2 separate regions of the Homo sapiens genome follow, and region 2 is linked to region 1. Evidence: promoter capture Hi-C in human tissues and cell types (Jung and others, 2019). All regions are on one chromosome and are shown on one strand. The core of a region is centred on a gene start or on the middle of the fragment in contact, and the rest is flanking DNA. Distances in the headings are between cores, read along the strand shown. Region 1 holds the start of THSD1 (thrombospondin type 1 domain containing 1). Region 2 has its middle 34 kb from the start of LINC02333.

What was found. Contacts are between HindIII fragments. The study calls those that stand out against the background at their distance.
Region 2: a contact is called between a fragment that was not itself captured here and the fragment with the promoter of THSD1 in region 1, in 1 of the 25 tissues and cell types used here (heart left ventricle).

What each region holds. Positions count from the first base shown.
Region 1 is chr13:52,403,347-52,409,195 of GRCh38, reverse strand. It overlaps THSD1 (thrombospondin type 1 domain containing 1), which reads left to right and starts at 3,024. Exons shown (of 5, transcript NM_018676.4): 1 at 3,024-3,165. RefSeq lists a silencer at 2,935-3,094. The HindIII fragment of the contact is 14,115 bases long and covers 1-5,849 here.
Region 2 is chr13:52,365,553-52,371,456 of GRCh38, reverse strand. No RefSeq gene overlaps it. Among named protein-coding and RNA genes, the nearest start is that of LINC02333, 34 kb to the right of the region's middle. The HindIII fragment of the contact is 4,395 bases long and covers 1-3,585 here.

The DNA.
Region 1 (5,849 bases), core at 1,775-4,274:
TAAAAATGAAGTGATAGAGTCAAAGACCTGCAAATCACATATTTAAAAATTTTTTTTTAAATGAGGTACAGTTTACAAACTGTAATGCACAGATCTTCAGTCAGACAAGTTTTAACAAATGCTTAGTAAATCCATGTAACTCACACTCCAAACAGTAGAACATATCTGTCGCCCCCTAAAAGTTTCCTGGTGCCTCTTTCCTGTCATCGCTCTCCAAAGGCCACCACTGTGCTTTGATTTCCATTACCAGATATTAGTTTTGCTGTCAAATGGTATATTCTGCATACCGGATATTAGTTTTGCTGTCAAATGGTATATTCTGCATAAAAGAAAAGCAAGTGTTAAACCATACTGCATAGTTACTCAATTTAACAAGCACAGCTGTTAAGGTGGAATCTATCCTCTCATATATTCCCAAAAACTTAAAACTCTTTTTTAAATTTTAGTTTTAGATTTGGGGGTGCATATGCAGGTTTGTTACAAGGGTAATTGCATGTTGCTGAGGTTTGGGCTTCTATTGATCCTGTCACCTAGATAATGAACATAGTACTGAGAGGTGACAGCGTGCTGGCAGCCCTCACAGCCCTCGCTGGCTCTCAGCACCTCCTCTGCCTGGGCTCCCACTTTGGCGGCACTTAAGGAGCTCTTCAGCCCGCTGCTGCACTGTGGGAGCCCCTTCCTGGGCTGGGCTGGCTGAGGCTGGAGCTGGCTCCCTCAGCTTGCGGGGAGGTGTGGAGGGAGAGGCGCTGGCGGGAACCGGGGCTGCGCACGGTGCTTGCGGGCCAGCACGAGTTCCGGGTGGGTGTGGGCTCGGCGGGCCCGCACTCGGAGCGGCCGGTGGGCCCTGCCGGCCCCGGGCAATGAGGGGCTTAGCACCTGGGCCAGCAGCTGCAGAAGGTGTGCTGGGTCCCCCAGCAGTGCCGGCCCACCGGCGCTGCGCTCAATTTCTCGCAGGGCCTTAGCTGCCTCCCTGAGCAGGGCAGGGCTCGGGACCTGCAGCCCGCCATGCCTGAGCCTCCCCCACCTTCCATGGGCTCCTGTGAGGCCCGAGCTCCCTGACGAGCACCACCCCCTGCTCCACAGCGCCCAGTCCCATCGACCACCCAAGGGCTGAGGAGTGCGGGCACAGGGCGCGGGACTGGCAGGCAGCTCCACTTGCAGCCCCGGTGCGGGATCCACTGGGTGAAGCCAGCTAGGCTCCTCACTGGTGGGCACTTGGAGAACCTTTATGGCTAGCTAAGGGATTGTAAATACACCAGTCGGCACTCTATCTGGCTCAAGGTTTGTAAACACACCAATCAGCACCCTGTGTCTAGCTCAGGGTTTGTGAATGCACCAATGGACACTGTATCTAGCTACTCTTGTGGGGACTTGGAGAACCTTTGTGTGGACACTCTGTATCTAGCTAATGTAGTGGGGACGTGGAGAACCTTTGTGTCTAGCTCAGGGATTGTAAATGCACCAATCAGCGCCCTGTCAAAACAGACCACTCCGCTCTCTGTAAAATGAACCAATCAGCAGGATGTGGGTGGGGCCAGATAAGAGAATAAAAGCAGGCTGCACGCGCCGGCAGTGGCAACCCGCTGGGGTTCCCTTGCAAAGCGTGGGAGCTTTGTTCCTTGGCTCTTTGCAATAAATCTTGCTGCTGCTCACTCTTTGGGTCCACACTGCCTTTATGAGCTGTAACACTCACTGCGAAGGTCTGCAGCTTCACTTCTGAAGCCAGCGAGACTACGGACACACTGGGAGGAACGAACAACTCCAGACGCGCCGCCTTAAAAGCTGTAACACTCATGGCGAAGGTCCGCAGCTTCACTCCTGAACCAGCGAGACCACGAACCCACCAGAAGGAAGAAACTCTGAACACATCCGAACATCAGAAGGAACAAACTCCGGACAGGCCGCCTTTAAGAACTGTAACACTCACCGCGAGGGTCCGCAGCTTTATTCTTGAAGTCAGAAAGACCAAGAACCCACCAATTCCGGACACAGTACCCAATAGGATGTTTTTCAGCCCTTGCCCCTTTCTCTCCCTCCCTTGACTTGGAGTCTCCAGTGTTTGTTGTTGCCATCTTTATGTCCATGAGTACCCGTTGTTTAAGCTCCCACTTATAAGTGAGAACATTCGGTGTTTGGTTTTCTGTTCCTATGTTAATTCACTTAGGATAATGTCCTCCAACTGCATCCATGTTGCTACAGAGGACGTGATTTTGTTCTTTTTTTATGGCTGTTTAGTATTTCGTGGTGTGTATGTACCACATTTTCTTTACCCAGTCTACTGTTGATGGGCACCTAGGTTGATTCCATGTCTTTGCTATTGTAAATAGTACTGTGATAAACATAGTGCGGGTGTCTTTTTGGCAGAATGATTTATTTTCCTTTGGGCATACACCCAGTAATGGGATTGCTGGGTCGAATGATCTTTCTGTTTTTAGTTGAGAAATCTCCAAACTGCTTTCCACAGTGGCTGAACTAATTCACATTCCTATAAAAAGAACTTTAACACTTGCAGAGTAGAGTTTTTAAAATGTTTAGTTATTTTTAATACCAATTCTGACCCCAGGGAAAGAAAATGGAGATGCACTTTACCTGAACTATGTTCTTTTGAAACTCTTCAGTGACATTTGGGAAAGCAAGTTTACAGCCCACATGCTGTGCCGCTTCAAGGACTTATTTTTGTGGTCTCCCTGAAGAAAATGACACTAGAGTAGAAGTGATTGAATGTGAAGTGTCAGGAGATTGCTCGCTCGTCCTTCGTTAAACCCCTGGTCCGGCTGTGTGCTGTGGATGCGGGTGTGTGTTGAGGGGACCTGCGTCTGCCGGGGCCGCACCCCCTCCCGCAGGACCTTGGCTGGCCGCGCGTTTCCTGCCTGTTTCCTGTCCAGCAGCTGGCGAGCTGGGGACCGGCAGGAAAGGATGCGCTGCCCAGAAGGGGCGGGAACCGACCACGCCCGGTCCCGTGTGCCCCCCGCCCTCCCGGCGCCCGCCCTCCCCACGCCGTCGGGGGCGGGCCCCGCGGGGCTGTGGGAGCCGAACGCCGCGGGGTCAGGGCGTGCAGTCTGGGACGCGGGATGCTTGGCGCTCTACCTCGCCGCCCCTGAGCCTTCCCGTCCGCCTCGCCACGCGCCCGGACGGCCTGGGGTTGCTGCCCGTCAGTCTCGAAAGGTAAGAAGCGCCCTCCGCATCCTGGTGTTCGCGCCCGTGCCGCGAGACTCTTGGAGGCTCCTCTGGGGTCGGGAAATGCCTCCGGACTCTGCCACCTCACCGCAGCCTGAAGGCGCAGGTGGACGGTGGCGGCCCCTCCCCACACCCGCCTCGGCCCCAGGGGACGCTTTTAAGGGGTATTGGTCTCCACACTTCGGAGTCCCGAATTTAAGTGAACCTGGCTCTGCCTTGGCTCAGATGTTGCCGAGTGACTGAGACTGGCCACAGAACCTTGAAAAATCGCGTCTTGAGCTACTGTTTCTTTCCAAAAAGAAATCCTTTCTGATATACAAAAAGTATGAAATACAAGGATTAAATTAAATTAAAGACGGTCCTCATTAAGGAGGGCTTTAAGCTGACGACGCGAGGGGTAGACTTCCAGGCGTGAACTGGGCTTGCGGGCATTTGGGAAGCTGAGTAGATGGGGCGAGCCAGGGCGTCCCAGGAACGCTGCACCCAACCTGTGGGACCAGGGCAGAGCAAACTCGAATGAACAGATAAATGAAGCCTGTTTACACGAGCTGCTTTAGAACTAGAGATTTCCTCCCAATAAATACTATTGGTATATATACACACAAGCATGTGCATGTTGGTCAGAAGGGACAAAATAACTGCTTCGTTTTCCATTTTATTCTTTCACGAATCATTGGTCCCATGGACATTAGTGTAATTCATTTACTTTTTCTGCAGCTATGAAGGGAGATTTAGAAGCGTTTGTCCTAGCTGGTTTCAGCAAAAACATGGGGTCTCAGGTTGGGTGATGCTGTTAGCCATTGAGAATATTCACAACTTTTCCCCACCTTCTCAGCTGATGCATTTAGAATTTGTCTCTAAAGTTTACATACAAGAATGCTAGGTAGAAGTATTTTCAAATGTGTATAAAATATATCTAAGTTCTTAATTTCTTAGAACAATTCTCAATGCAAACATTGTAAGAAGTCAGTCGAGGTATTGAGAACAACATGTTGAAAGAAAATAAGCAAGGTAGAAAGAAATTAAAGAGACATATTATGACTAATGTTATGATCATATTCCATATTATGATTGACAAGTAGGCTGGTCTGTTTTATAAGTCTTTTTCCATTCAGCTCTAAATATAGATTGTCTCACCATTCTATGTTTTACCGATCATTTTCATAAGAAAGAAAATGTGTTATAATCACTAAATCAGTAATGATTTGGGGCTTCAAAAATAAAAATGTTATTGTCGTGGAAGCAAACAAATCTGAGAGAAGCCAGTTCAACTTTTGGGAGCTTGCTTCTTCTTAGTTTGGTTACCAGGTCTCAGTGACTTAAAAGAAGCATTGTAATTGTCTTAAGTGCTCACACTTGCCCAAGTGATGTGATGTGTTCTGCAAGGATCTTACTGGCTGACTTTGCCCAGGTTTCCCAGTCCATGTTCGAGGAAAGAATTGGGTCAAGTCTGTGGCTAATTCCACCCAAAACAATTTTCTTCTTCTTTCCTTTCTTTTCTTTTTTTTGGGTGGGGGTGGCGGGGAAGAGGAAGGAGCCCTAATCTGCATAGTTACACTTCAAATCTCTGTTTCCCTTTCAGGAAGTACAGTATTTCCTTTGTTCAGCAGCTCTTGCTGAAAGAAAGCTAATAAGACACACCAGTTTCCCTTCCATTGAATTCTGGCTTATTTCAATCAGTCTTCTTAATTCCACTAATTTGTGCTCTTATCTGAAAAGATGTAACATGTATTTGGAATATAATATACTTGCTTATTAAAATGATTAACTGTGGGCTGGGTGTGGTGGCTCACGCCTGTAATCCCAGCACTTTGGGAGGCCATGGTGGGCAGATCACGAGGCCAGACATCTGAGACCAGCCTGGCCAAAGTGGTGAAACACCGTTTCTACTAAAAATACAAAAATTAGCCAAGCGTGGTGGTGCACACCTATAATCCCCGCTACTCAGAAGCCTGAGGTGGGACAATCACTTGAACCTGGGAGGTGGAGGTTGCAGTGAGCCAAGATCATGCCACTGCACTCCAGGCTAGGTGACAGAGCAAGACTCTGTCTAAAAAAAAAAAAAAAAAAAAAAAAAAAATGTGAATAATGGGGGGGACCTTAAACATTAAGAAAGTACATATTTGGTTATATTTAATATTAATACATAGTTTGCTAGACTCTAGTATGAAAGAACTGTCTTAAATGCCCAGTATCTTATTCTATAGTTGAATAGTCTATATAAAAATAAGTGCCTTTTCCAGCCGGGTGCGGTGGCTTACGCCTGTAATCCCAGCACTTTGGGAGGCTGAGATGGGCAGATCACGAGGTCAGGAGATCGAGATCCTGCCTAACACAATGAAACCCCGTTTCTACTAAAAATACCAAAAATTAGCTGGGCATGGTGGTGGGCGCCTGTAGTCCCAGCTACTCGGGAGGCTGAGGCAGGAGAATGGCGTGAACCCGGGAAGCGGAGCTTGCAGTGAGCCGAGATCTCGCCACTGTACTCCAGCCTAGGCGACAGAGTGAGACTCCATCTCTAAATAAATAAATAAAATAAAATAAGTGCTTCTTCCAACAAATAACTGAACCACAGGCCAGCAAGGTCTTCCCTGCCCTCTTAGGTAGACTGGGAAGATTGCTGTGTGAACCACCGATCTCGTGATGCATACCAGCAGCAACAAGTATTGCAG
Region 2 (5,904 bases), core at 139-2,638, 36 kb after region 1:
CATCAGCTTGGGGTACAAAAAGAAATTTCATTTGGTCAATATTAAATTAGATGGCTATATAGGCTGAGTAGGGTGGTTGATGCCTATAATCCCAGCACATTGGGAGGGAAAGGCGGGCAGATCATCTGAGGTCAGGAGTTGGAGAGCAGCATGGCCAACATGGTGAAACCCCGTCTCTACTAAAAATACAATTAGCCGGCTGTGGGGAGGCGGAGCTTGCAGTGAGCCAAGATCACACCACTGTGCTCCAGCCTGGGCAACAGGGCAAGACTCTGTCTCAAAAAAAAAAAAAAAAAAAAAAAAAAATTAGCCGGGTGTGGTGGCGCGCGCCTGCAGTCTGAGCTGCTTCGGAGGATTCTCCCGAGGCAGGAGAATTGTTTGAACCCAGGAGGCGGAAGTTGCAGTGAGCCGAGATCAGGCCACTGCACTCCAGCCTGGGTGACAGAGTGAGACTCTGTCTCAAAAAGTAAAAAAATAAAAATAAGTAAATAATTAAATAATTAAATAAAAAGACGGCACTGAGTCCAATATACCACTGTTAAAGCTTCTCTTTAAGGTCTCTCTTTCCTTCAGTGCTTTGGCCTGAAATAACTCCTAACTCCCCAGGGATGCTTACGCTTTCTCTTCCTAAGGTGTCACTCTGGCCAGAAATGTGGAAGTCATCCTGAACTCTTTCCTCCTTATTCTTCATATTTACTTAATACTAAGTCCTTGGAGAATTAAGCACCTCGCCCAGGTCACAAAGCATCCACTTAGTGCGCCTTAGGAGCCAAAATCTAGTGCTTAGGAGGCTTGGGCTAAAGCACACTGTTTTTTAATTTAATTTAATTTAAATTTTTTTTTTACTGCTCCTTGCAGAGCAGGAGTACCCCATAGGCAGTATGCCCAGAGTAGCCAAGCACACTATTCTTAGGTAGGGTTATGCTTATTGTGGGTGGCAATAAGCCTTCTTAATGGAAGATGTGGATGGAATAAAGCTGCCTCAGGTGCCCCCAACAGCTCCCACCCCGGAAACTTCTCTTGGCATTGTTGCCATCATTAGGTACTAAGTGGTAAAAGTAGCATTCACTTCCTCCGTGAGTTTGATGTCAAACTTTTTTTCTTATTTTGTTTTTTTTCAAAACTTTATTAATAAAATTTCCAAGTAATCAAAAAAGTTGAAAGAATAGGATAGTAACATTCATATATTTATCACCAGGCTGAAACAACCATTAATATTTGCTATACTTATTTATCAGGTTGAAGTATATGAAATGATAATAAAAAGGCCGGGCGCGGTGGCTCATGCCTGTAATCCCAGCATTCTGGGAGGCTGAGGCGGGCGGATCACTAGGTCAGGAGATCGAGACCATCCTGGCTAACACGGTGAAACCCCGTCTCTACTAAAAAAATATCAAAAATTAGCCGGGCGTGGTGGTGGGCGCCTGTCGTCCCAGCTACTCGGGAGGCTGAGAGGCAGGAGAATGGCATGAACCCGGGAGTCGGAGCTTGCAGTGCACCGAGATCACGCCACTGCACTCCAGCCTGGGCGACACAGCGAGACTCCGTCTCAAAAAAAAAAAACAAAGAAATTATAATAAAAATTGAATAGAAACAATTTCATGTAGTTCAATTTACTGTACATGTGTTGTTCAACAATTTGAAGATTTCTTTCAGATACACATGACACTTCAGAGTGTATCTTCTAAGAATAAGGTTGTGCTTCGGCCGGGCGCGGTGGCTCACGCCTGTAATCCCAGCACTTTGGGAGGCCGAGACGGGCGGATCACGAGGTCAAGAGATCGAGACCATCCTGGCTAATACGGTGAAACCCCGTCGCTACTAAAAATACAAAAAAATTAGCTGGGCCTGGTGGTGGGCGCCCGTAGTCCCAGCTACTCCGGAGGCTGAGGCGGGAGAATAGTGTGAACCCGGGAGGCAGAGATTGCAGTGAGCCGAGATCGCGCCACTGCACTCCAGCCTGGACGACAGGGAGACTCGAAAAAAAAAATGAAGGTTGTGCTTCTACAAAACACATATTATTATTATTACACCTAAGAAAGCAATTCCCTAAAATAATCTAATATCCAGTCTATGTTCAGATTTCCCCAAGTGCCCACAAAATGTCTTTTATAGCCCTTCTTTTTCTGATTCAGAATCCAATTAAGATTCATGCATTGCACTTGATTATGCCTTCTTTTATTCTACATTATCCCCCAAAATACCCTTTTGTTAAAAATGACATTGACTTTTTAAATGGATGGAGCCAGTTGTCTTGTAGAATGTAGATTGCCCTTTATTTTTTTCTGGACTATCTTTTCAAGGATGTTTAGATAAAACAGCCTTAGATGGTGAAGATAGCATCTCCCTCTACAGCAAAGTAATTTAAAATGTTTTTATTGTAAAGAGCATATAAAATTTGCCATTGTTAATTGTAGAGTTCAGTAGTGTTAAGTATATTCACATTGTTGTGGAACCAATCTACGAAATGTTTTCATCTTGCAAAACTGAAACTCTATACCCATTAAACAACACCTCTCCATTTCCCTCTCCCTCCAGCTCCTGGCAACTACTATTCTGACTTTCTGTTTCTATGAATTTGAGCACTCTAGGGAACCTCACATGAGAGAAATCACACAGTATTTGTCTTTTTGTGACTGGTTTATTTCACTTAGCATGATGTCCTCAACGTTCATTCATGTTGTACCATGTGTCAGAATGTCCTTTCTTTCTAAGGCTGAGTAATATTCCATTGTGTATTTACAACATACATATTGTATGTTGCAAATATGCCACATTTTTCTTATGCATTCATTCATCAATAAACATTGGTAATGCTTCCATCTCTTGGCTATTGTGAATAATGCTGCTATGAACATGGCTGTAAAATATTTCTTTGAGATCCTGTTTTCAATACTTTTGGCTATATACTCAGAAGTGGAATTGCTGGATCATATGGTTATTTCTATTTTTAGTTTTTTTGAGAAACCGCCATGCTGTTTTTCATAGCATTACACCATTATACATTCACACCAACAGTGTACAAGACAGTGCACTCTGTTGGCCAGGCTGGAGTGCAATGGCACAATCTTGGCTCACTGCAACCTCCGCCTCCTGGGTTCAAGCAATTCTCCTGCCTCAACCTCCCGAATAGCTGGGACTACAGGTACATGCCACCACGCCCAGCTAGTTTTTTGTATTTTTAATACAGACGAGTTTTCACCATGTTAGCCAGGATGGTTTCGATCTCCTGACGTCGTGATCCACCCTCCTCGGCCTCCCAAAATGCTGAGATTACAGGCATGAGCCACCACACCCAGCGTAACTTGTATTTTTAGTAGAGACAGGATTTTACCATGTTGGCTAGGCTGGTCTTGAACTCCTGCCTCAAGTGATCTGCCCGCCTCGACCTCCCAAAGTGCTGGGATTACAGGTGTGAGCCACTGCGCCCAGCCTCATTGTGTTTTTGGTTTGTATTTCCCTAATCATTAGTGAAGTGCTTGTGGGCATGTGTATATCTTCTTTGGGGCAATGTCTTTTCAGATCTTTTGCTCATTAAAAAAATTGAGTTGTTTTGTGAGCCATAGGAGTTCATTATATATTTTTATATGAACCCCTTGTCGGATGTTTGATTTACAAATATTTTTTCTCATTCTGTGCATTGCCTTTTAACTCTGTTGATTGTGTCTTTTCATACACAGATCAATTCAGATTTTAACAATACATATTAGCTTCTATAATTTGATATATGAACACTTTTTCTCACACTGATCACCTTAGTTTCTAATAATATCAAAATATTTGCTTTGTCCTAAAACATACACAAAATAGTCACAAAATCAAAGTGCTATCTTTACTACTAAAAATAAGATACAGTATGAAGTTCGATATGTTTTTGAAATTCTTTTTGTCCTTAGAATATACAGTAGTAAGATGTATATCTTACACAGTGTTCAAAATTCATTCCAAATTTTTGTCTCTGTGTGGCTATATTATCAATTCAACACAGAGTTTGGGTAATTTGTTTCAGTCTGTTTTTAATTTTACTGTTAGCTTCTTTTTTCTTTTCTTTTCTTTTTTTTTTTTTTGAGATGGAATCTCTCACTGTCACCCGGGCTGGAGTGCAATGGCGTGATATCGGCTCACTTCAACCTTTGCCTCCCAGGTTCAAGCAATTCTCCTACCTCAGCCTACCGAGTAGCTGGGATTACAGGCATGTGCCACTATGCCTGGCTAATTTTTTGTAATTTTAGTAGAGATGGGGTTTCACTATGTTGGCCAGGCTGGTCTTGAACTCCTGACCTCGTGATCCACCTGCCTTGGCCTCTCAAAGTGCTGGGATTACAGGCATGAGCCACCATGCCCAGCACTGGTTTTTCCTTGAATATGTAAAATGGTTACATGGATTAAAAAGAAAATCTCTATACAAAGATATATTCAGAAAAGTCTTGCTTCCATTCCTATCTCTTTTAGCCCATTCCACAAACTTCTACCCCAGAGGTTTTTTATTTGACCTTCAGTATACATTTATGCACAAATAAGCTATATATTTATATGTTTATATTTATATTCTTATTTCCCCCCATTCCTTACACAAAATATAAAAATACTGGTATCTTGAAGCACTTTACTTTAAATGCATGAATCTTAAACTCTCTTTCTACTTAAAAAAATCTGCAAATAAGGGTCATAATAACCTCATAAACTTAAGAAATTTCTGATTCTAAATGGTAAATTATGAATACCTATTTAAGATGGCAATGAAGGATATTCACTGTATCATCATGGAAATGTATTACTATCTTGCCTTTGTCGTTCTTATTCTCCTTCCCTGTCTACGGTAAATATACAGCTGCCTGAGAGAATGGATTTACAAGCCTATATTCCCATAGTACTTTGCTCATAAACCAGTTTCCCATTCATCTCATTGTTTTACAGTTATTTATATATCTTTTCCCCTAATAGTGTGTGAGCTCTGAGAGCAGGGATCATATATCCTATTCTTTTTTGTATGTAAAGCCGCGTGCTACAGGGGAAAGTTCATTGTCTTTGGAATTTTGGCTCTATCACTTCCCAGCTGCATGAGTTTGTGCATGTTACTTCACCACTGTGGACTTCAGTTTTCTCATTTATAAAAAATAATATCCTATTGCAGGACTCTTGATAACACTAAATGAGACAGTGTAAGTAAAGGGCCCCATGAGTGGCCCACCATCCTCTGAGCTTCCAATGCTATGTGGCCAACATTTTGTTTATTCCTAGATTCAACTTCCTTTGCATTGTGACATTAGCTCTTTTGATAAATTCTACATATGTGTTTGTTTATTTTCTGTATCCCAACCAGTCAAAACCACCATGATATGCCTGTATTTGCTCTATTGAGAATAGATGTTCTTTCTTTCCAATTTATAGCAAAGATGGAGTCAGTGTAGGGGGTGAGTTGGTAACACCTGTTTCACAACTCTAGGGAGCAACATTCTCACAGACCAGAGTGAAAGATGGCCTCTGAGAGACTGTGCAACTTCACAACCTGGTTTTGTATCCTCCAACCTACACACCTATCTGTTTCTAAGCCTTTTTTTCCTACTTTTTCTTTACCTCTTCTACCTGTGCTTAGGAACTCATGCTTTCCCTTTAGCGTTGAGCTTCTTGGAGAAGTTATTTACTCCATTGCTCCTCTTTTATTAGCAATTTTCTTCCTCTTTTCCATTCACTCTTCAATTAATTGCAGTCTAGCTTTTGCTTTCCCTAGATTGAAACACATTCCAGAAAAATCAGTTTAATTTCAAACCTTTGCACTTGCTCACTGAAACCTTTCATCAGTCTATTACATTGGATTCATACCTCTCCCAACCCCAATTCCATATCCTCCTTACCTGATTTATTTTTCCTCAGAGCACTTATTCAATACATTAAATATTCACG